2 separate regions of the Homo sapiens genome follow, and region 2 is linked to region 1. The links are contacts of gene promoters, found by promoter capture Hi-C in blood cells and fetal thymus (Javierre and others, 2016). All regions are on one chromosome and are shown on one strand. The core of a region is centred on a gene start or on the middle of the fragment in contact, and the rest is flanking DNA. Distances in the headings are between cores, read along the strand shown. Region 1 holds the start of ABCB7 (ATP binding cassette subfamily B member 7). Region 2 overlaps ZDHHC15 (zDHHC palmitoyltransferase 15).

Region 1 (3,939 bases), core at 820-3,319:
AGCAGCTATTTATAGCAGCTTTTATTGTGTATACCTCTGTCTCTTTAATTTATGTCAGACAGTTATGTGTCAAGTTATTACAGGCTGAGTTGGCCTTTTTGTTGCTGCTCTTCCCCAGCAGTGTGCAACTCTTATTATGCCTCACGTTCTATTTCTGGGTGCCCTGGAAATTTTCTTCGGCTTATTTGGCAAATAAATATTTGCCTCACTTTAGCTCATCATAGAGTAACAACTTGGGTATTTCAATGTTATTCACACTTTTTGATCAAAACAGTTGGCTTACAATGAGCACTACTTTTGGAAAAAAATAATTTGGCTCCATTCAAAGACTTTACAACTGGGTGGTAAGATTCAGTGGCAATATTCAGCCCTAAGAGAAATCATTAGTAGAGTCTAGAGTTTCTCTAATGTATACTGTAGCTGTCTAACACAGAATAGATGCTGAATAAATATTTGTTGATGACAATATAGTCATTAATATGAAGCCATTACTGATCTACTGTCAACAATACAATAATAAGCTAGAAACATCCAATTAGTCACTAAGTCTTGCCAATTCCATCTCCTAATTGCCCTGCAATCGATCTACTGCCACTGCTACTGCTAGGTTGAGGCCTTTATTTTATGACTGAACTATTGCATTAACTTCATGACTTCAATATGAACTCCGTCCAATCCAACCTTCTCACTTAAGCCAGAGTAGCTTAATGGACATATAAATCTGATCATGTTACTCTCCTGATTAAAACTCTTCACTGGTTATAGGATAAAGTATTAACTTCTTAGAATGAAATAGAAGGCCCTTTACCATCAGGTCTCTGTTCACTCAGGTTAACCTCCTACTACTTTCCCAAACTCCATAGACTCCTGAACCTGAAAATATTTTCTTATGCCTTCTTGCTTTTAACATGTCATCTTCTTTACGTGTAATTCCAGTCAACCTCTTCAACTTGAATTCTATTTTTCTTTAAATAACTAGCTCAAGCATCCCCTTGAATGAATCCCAGAACAAAAAAGCTAACTGCATGGGCTACAGATTTCTGTTTTTCTTTATCAGACTTACTAGTCCAAAGTACCTCTTCATAAGAAGTCCATAATTATTTGTCTCTTTTGTGTGAAAAGTTGGAGAATGCAGCAGTGAATATAAAATTGCAACTGCATTATTGTCTCCGGGGTTTCAGGTAACATTTACAACTGGAAATGCAGTTTCCTAGATAACTGTAAACATATTTTGACATTTTGTTTGATAATAGTGGTGACAAAAGAATATAAGCCTGTCTTTAAACATGGTCTTCTCTCCATACATTTCACTTTACCACCCTTCAGCCAACCTAAGCGATTTTTCAAGAATTAGGGACGCTGCAAAAACCAAAGCGAAGAGCTAGAAAGAGTGACAAAATTAGTAAAGATGTCTGTAGTCTCTCTGTGTGTGTGTGTGTGTGTGTGTGTGTGAGACTGTCCCACGAGCAACAGACCAAAGGAAAACTGCCCCAAGGTTTGCGCAACAGAGAACAATCAGCAAAGTTAAAGTCCTTACAGGACAGAAAAGCAGTAAATCTTACAGCTGAAGCCTCCTCCCAGGGGAAATTAACGTCTGTAGTTTAATCTTTCCTTAATTCAGAAGGGAGTGAAGATAAGAATATGCATAGGGAAAATGGAGAGAGGGGAGCGTGACATTGAGTTGGAGGAGGTAAGAGAGTATTATGAGAGACAAGATGGGGTTGACAGATTTAGCAGATACAATATTTGGGACACACGCACGAAGAGATGATTCGTTGTTTATGTAAAATTGAAACTTAACTAGGTAGGCATCCTGTATTTCATCTGGCAACTCCAGGAAAAGAGAAAAATACAGTGTTACTCCAATATTCCCGGTTGTGTAAGGAAAACAATCAAAGCTCGGCCCTAAGGAAAAACAAATAAAAGAGGCTGTGCGAATGCATCCGAATCTTCAAACAGAATCCATTTCCGGTCTGGGGCCCTGGGAAAACAAGAAGAGGAGAGACAATTAAGGTAGCCGAATTCAGTCCGCCAGTGTCCCATAATCCTCTTCTCTCGGTTCCTCTTTCCTCGCTCAAGATGGCGCTGCTCGCGATGCATTCTTGGCGCTGGGCGGCCGCGGCGGCTGCTTTCGAAAAGCGCCGGCACTCCGCGATTCTGATCCGGCCTTTAGTCTCTGTTAGCGGCTCAGGTCCGCAGTGGAGGCCACATCAACTCGGCGCCTTGGGAACCGCTCGAGCCTACCAGGTGAGATGCCACTGACATGGAAGAATAGGGTGAAGGGCAAGGGGACCTGTAGGGAAAAGGTTGCCCTCCTGACCTCGGGGCAGAGAGAGCACCAAGAAGAAAGTCATGGCTAACTGGGAGCAGCAGTAAGTGAAGGAAATTAACGTCAGTAATTTGAGGAAAGGGCGAAGAAGAAAACCTTTGAGTTCAGCAAAGGGAAACGGGGCAGGAGGTTCTGGGCAGAGGACACCTGGAGCGCTGGAGGCTCTCGGAGTCATAGTTTTTCTCTCATATTAAGAGTTGGGGTAGACACCATTCCCAGCCTGCTTGCCTTTCTAAAGACGAGGAAGACTGGATTATTTTCCCCAATTAGTAATGGAATTTGGGACAGTTTATCTGTGGTTCAGATTTTACTCAGTTGGAATTAGCAATTCGGAGAGCACTGTAATGACAGCAAGCTATCTATAAACAGGTGGCGCCAGTTAACTCCCTTGCTGACAGGCGTGCTTCTTGATAGGCCAAAACCGTAACTATCTTTCCAAAACATAGACCGCCCTAAATTCTTGTATAAATATGACTGTCCTAGATCTGAAAAATACAGTGATGTTCTCTGTGCACAGGTCATTTTGGAAGCCATAGGCTACTTATCCTTAACTTATGAATGTAGCTATGGTTGTAGTGCCTCCTAAAATTTGAGTCCATTATTACCTCTCACTCAGGAACGGTTTTTTAAAAAATTATTTGTACTTAACTGTACTAAAGTATATCTTTTTATTTTCTGTGTATTGACAAGAGGTTTAATTGCCACCACGTATTTATCACTATCACTTTAAAATATTGTCAGTTTTGTATGAGAAACAACCTCTTAAATTTTGATTCTTCATCTACAAATATTTAACGTCTACCTTGTACATAGCCCTGTGCTAGATGATAGGGTACTAAGAGAGACATACAGTTATGCCTTCAAGGATTGTACAGTTTAGTTAAGGAGATTGGATCTATGCATTACAAAAATAACTGAAAAACACAGTGGTGGGTTAATTAGCAAATGAATAGTATGTACAATAAAGGCTATAGGCATCCAGAGGAAATAGTGATAATTAAGGACCAGGTTATAAAGAGTATTTCATGCTGGTGATAGAACTGGGGAGAATGTTCTGAACAGGGAGAATAGGGAATGACACTAAGCATGTGGAAGGCTGATGGAATGACATTTATAATTCATTCAGTAATTATTGAACACCTCTACAGGAGCAAACAAAATATAAGTCCTGTCTTTAAAGAGCTTAAAATCTAGTGGGAAATATGTAAATTAATCGGCAATTAAAATATAGTGGAGCTGTGTAATAATGGGAAAGGTACAAGGTATGGGACAGTATATGTGAGGGGTATTAAGTCTAATTGTAAGGTAGTGAAGATTGCCTTAAGTAACTGATATCTAAGGCAAGAGCTGAAAAATTAGAAGTTAGCCAGTTAAAGAAGGAATCGCATGTGCAAAGGCCCACAAGTCAGAGAGAACATGGACCTTTTCTAGAACTGCACGTAGTTTAGACTGTAGTGAGTCATTCAAGATAGGAAATAGCAGATTAGGCTAACGAAGCGAATCTAGATGATTTCATTAAGGTTTTTAAAGTATTTTATGGTTGAAAGTTTCTAACACATGATCTCTTGGGAATGGTTTTTGTTCTGTAGTTCTCCAATAAGGCAGATGAA
Region 2 (3,939 bases), core at 415-2,914, 360 kb before region 1:
ATGATCTTTTTTTACCCTGTCCTGTCACACTAAGGAGCACTCTATATCCTCCTTATTTGCAAAATGGTTCTCACAGTATAGCTTGTGCATTCAAACTCAGAATTCTACAATATTTCCCGACACAAACCCCAAGTCTCTCCCTTATATTATTCCCACTTTCCACTTTAATTCCCCCCGTTCCCCATTCTTATTATTATTGGCCTTGCAATGCTCTCATCAACTCACAATGGCGTTTTCATATTATATCCTGTCTTGTTACAATAGGGTCCCTGCTTTTCTCACAGTAAAATCTCCCCTTGTCCCTGTCTTCTCACATTGAAGAATCCCTGTCTCCTCTCAAAAGAGATTCCACTAATACTTGTCAGTCTTGTCACTTCGACACTGTAATTCCATCGCCAGCACCCTTAAACTTGTGGCCTACAATGTTCCCTATTCATCTAGTTTGGGGCTCCAATATGTTTATACTCCTCTCACAGTAGGACTCCTGACCCATTGGACATCCCCTCACTCCCAAGTCCTTCTGAGACTTCTTTATTTTTTCATACCAAACTCTTCTCACCTTAAAAATGATGGTAAGGATGCTGCTTTTTTGAACTCCGGGACCTGACTCCATTTGTAATTTTCTTCTGTTACATATTTGCAAAGCAATAGTCTACCCCAGGTAGACTGGGATAAACTAGGGAGGCAGGAGATGATCCTCTTTTCCAATATAGAACTTTCTATATTCTAATTCTATAATTTCCTATATTCTAATTCTAATTACCTCTCTGAATCACAATTGGAATTTTTTTTACCTCTTCCTTAGAGATATTATGGAAAATGCAGAAAGAGCTCTTAAAATAAATGTCATTAGTTGCCTTCATAGATACAAGTTAGCCTAGTTTTCTTTTGTATCTCAATCCAGTATTGGGATGCATTAAGTAGACTATGCAATGACTGGGAAGCTTTTCTATTCTCAGACCTTACTACTTTGGCTTTTTGAATGATTGATTGAAGGGTCAAAAGTTCAGCACCATTATTATGGTATGGACATTGCTCCTAGGATCAATGCCATATTGTAAACAACTTATTTTGGAGTTTTTCAGTATTGACTCATATGAGCTTCACCAAGATATATTTTAAAAATTAATGATGATAATGACTAACACTTATGTATTGCTTACTCTGTGCCAGAAAATGTTCTAAGTTCTGTAGATAGATTAACTATATATTAATTCATTTAATCATCACAATAACTATATGAGGCAGGTACCATTACTGTTTCCATTGTACAAATGTGTAAACTGAGGCACAGATGAGCAAACCAAGGTAAAGACCAAGTTACTGCAAATAATTGGCCTTCTATAAGTTCTTCTTTAGTCATGTAATATTAACAGATGAAAGGAAGCGTAGGACTTATTTGTTTGTTTTAGTTAACATACTTGCACCACACTGCTACATGCCAAGTACTATTTCTAGGTGACTACACACACAGACACTTAATCTTTATAACAACTTTCCAATGTATATACTATCATTACTTGTTTGTAAACTGAGGAACAGACAGAATAAGTAGCTTACCTAAGGTCACAGAGCTAGTAAATGGCCAAACTTAAAACCCAGGCAGTATGTTGCCACAGTCTCCTCTAAACTAATGCAGAGGTAAAAACTTTGTGACATACAAGCCAGATGTAGCCTTCAGATATATTTTGCCTGGCCTGCACAGTGTTTTCTTAACATTTTGCATCAGTTCCCATTATTTAAAAGTCAGGAGAATAAGGCAGCTTTGACTTTCAACTCTGGCTGAACCAGTCCCTCCTGCCATCATCAGTTTAACAATCTTGTAACAAATTAGCAACCTGGGTTTTGGAAAGGTTAAATCAAATTTTCCTAAGGCCACACATTTAGTAATAGTGAAGAGTTGGAAATCCAGGCTGCCTGATACCAAGGCCATACCTTTTCCAACACAAATAAATTAACAAATTTGCATTTCAATATGTCTCAAAAAGTAACATTAAGGACCTAACTTCTTTCCAGGGATAAAACCTGATGTCTTTCTCCCTAACGTTACATTAGAGCTGAAACCAAAAGAGATGTTTTTGTCCTTTAATTCTTAGAGTTTGAATTCTGCCATTTACTAGCCTGGAGACCTGGGGCAAGTAACTTCACTCTCTCAACCTCAGTTGTCTCACATGTACCTTGCTTCTACAGTTGTTCATCCATATGACAAATGGTTGCTTAGCACTCAGTATATGCCAGGTATTACTGCTGTGAGGCTCAAATAACATGATGCCTGAAAAGCATGCATCACAGTTCACAACACATTATAAGAGCTCATTAGATAGTAACTTGTGATTAGTAAAGAAATAAAGGATTCTTCCTGACCCAGGAAAATAAGAAGCTTAGCTTTTTAGAGAGGAGGGAAAGTAACAGTATCCATTTTATTGGGGTGAAATTTATATAACATAAAATTAACCATTTTTAAGTGTTCGCCTCAGTGCCATTTAGCACTCACAATGTTGTGCAGCCATCACCTCTATGTAGTTCCAAAATGTTTTTGTTATCCCATAAAGAAACCTCATAAGCATTAAGCAGTCACTCCCTGTTCCCTCTTCCCCCAAGTCCTAGCCAATTATTAATCTGCATTCTGTCTCTATGGATTTACCTATTATGGATGTTCCATATAAATAGAATCATAAAATATGTGTTCTTTTGTGTCTGACTTCTTCCAATTAACAAAATGTTTTTGAAATTGGTCCACATTATATTATGTAACAGTAATTTATCCCTTTTAATGGCTGAATAATAGTCTATTGTGTGTGTGTGTGTGTGTGTGTGTGTGTGTGTGTGTGTGTATATATATATATATATATATATATATATATATATATACCAGTTTGTTATCCATTCATCCATTAATGGCCATTTGGGCTATTTCTACCTTTTGTCTCTTCTGAATAGTGCTGTTACAAACATTCATGTATTTGTTTGAATATCTGTCTTCAATTATTTTGAGTATATACACCAGGGAGATGGATGGGGATAATTGGACTGTATGGTAATTCTATGTTTAACTTTCTGAGGAACCTCCAAACTATCTTCCGCAGTGACTGCACCATTTTACATTCCCATCAAGCAGCACAGAAGGGTTCCAATTTGTCCACATTCTCACCAAGACTTGTTATTTTCAGTTTTATTTTTATTATAGCCATCTTACTGGGTGTGAAGGGGTATCTCATTATGGATTTGATTTGTATTTCCATAATGAAAAAAATATTGAGTATCTTTTTATGTACTTGTTTGCCATCCATATATCTTCTTTGGGAAAATGTCTATTCAAGCCATTGTCCATTTTTTAAATGGGATTTTTAAATTGGGTTGTCTTTTTGTTGTTGAATTTTAATATTTTTTGCATGTTCTGAATACTTGATCTTTATCAGATACGTTATTTGCAAACATTTTCCCCCATACTTGATAGTATCATTTTATACACAAAGATTTTTAATTTTAATAAAATTCAATTTATCTATTTTTTCTTTTGTTGCCTATGCTTTTGGTGTCATATTTAAGAATCCATTACCAAATGCAAGAGCATAAAGATTTACCCCTGTGGGATTTTTTTGTTTGGTTGGTTGGTTGGTTGGTTTTGGTTTTTTGTTTGTTTGTTTGTTTTTTGTTTTTTTTTGTTTTTGTTTTTGATACGGGACCTCACTATGTTGCCCAGGCTGATCTCAAACTCCTGGGCTCAAGTGATCCTCCCACCTTAGCCTCTCAAATAGCTGGGGCTACAGGCGTGTGCCCTGTGTTTTCTTATAATAATTTTATACTTTTAGCTCTCACCTTTAGGTATTTTAGCCATTCTGAGTTAATTTTTTATATCTGGCATAAGATACGAGTCCAGCTTTTTTTTAAAATTTTATTATTATTATACTTTAAGTTTTAGGGTACGTGTGCACAACA

Evidence for each region. Contacts are between HindIII fragments. The CHiCAGO score rates a contact against its expected background, and 5 or more counts as called.
Region 2: a fragment that was not itself captured here is called in contact with the fragment with the promoter of ABCB7 in region 1 in 6 of 17 cell types (naive CD4 T cells, non-activated CD4 T cells, activated CD4 T cells and 3 more); the score reaches 8.1 in naive CD4 T cells.

Annotation. Positions count from the first base shown.
Region 1 is chrX:75,154,413-75,158,351 of GRCh38, reverse strand. ABCB7 (ATP binding cassette subfamily B member 7) reads left to right here and starts at 2,069. Exons shown (of 16, transcript NM_001271696.3): 1 at 2,069-2,247. The coding sequence starts at 2,080. It also overlaps a transcript of UPRT not described here. RefSeq lists an enhancer at 1,959-2,388. The HindIII fragment of the contact is 6,846 bases long and covers 1-3,939 here.
Region 2 is chrX:75,517,702-75,521,640 of GRCh38, reverse strand. All of the region lies in intron 1 of ZDHHC15 (zDHHC palmitoyltransferase 15), which reads left to right. Among named protein-coding and RNA genes, the nearest start is that of ZDHHC15, 3.4 kb to the left of the region's middle. The HindIII fragment of the contact is 1,436 bases long and covers 947-2,382 here.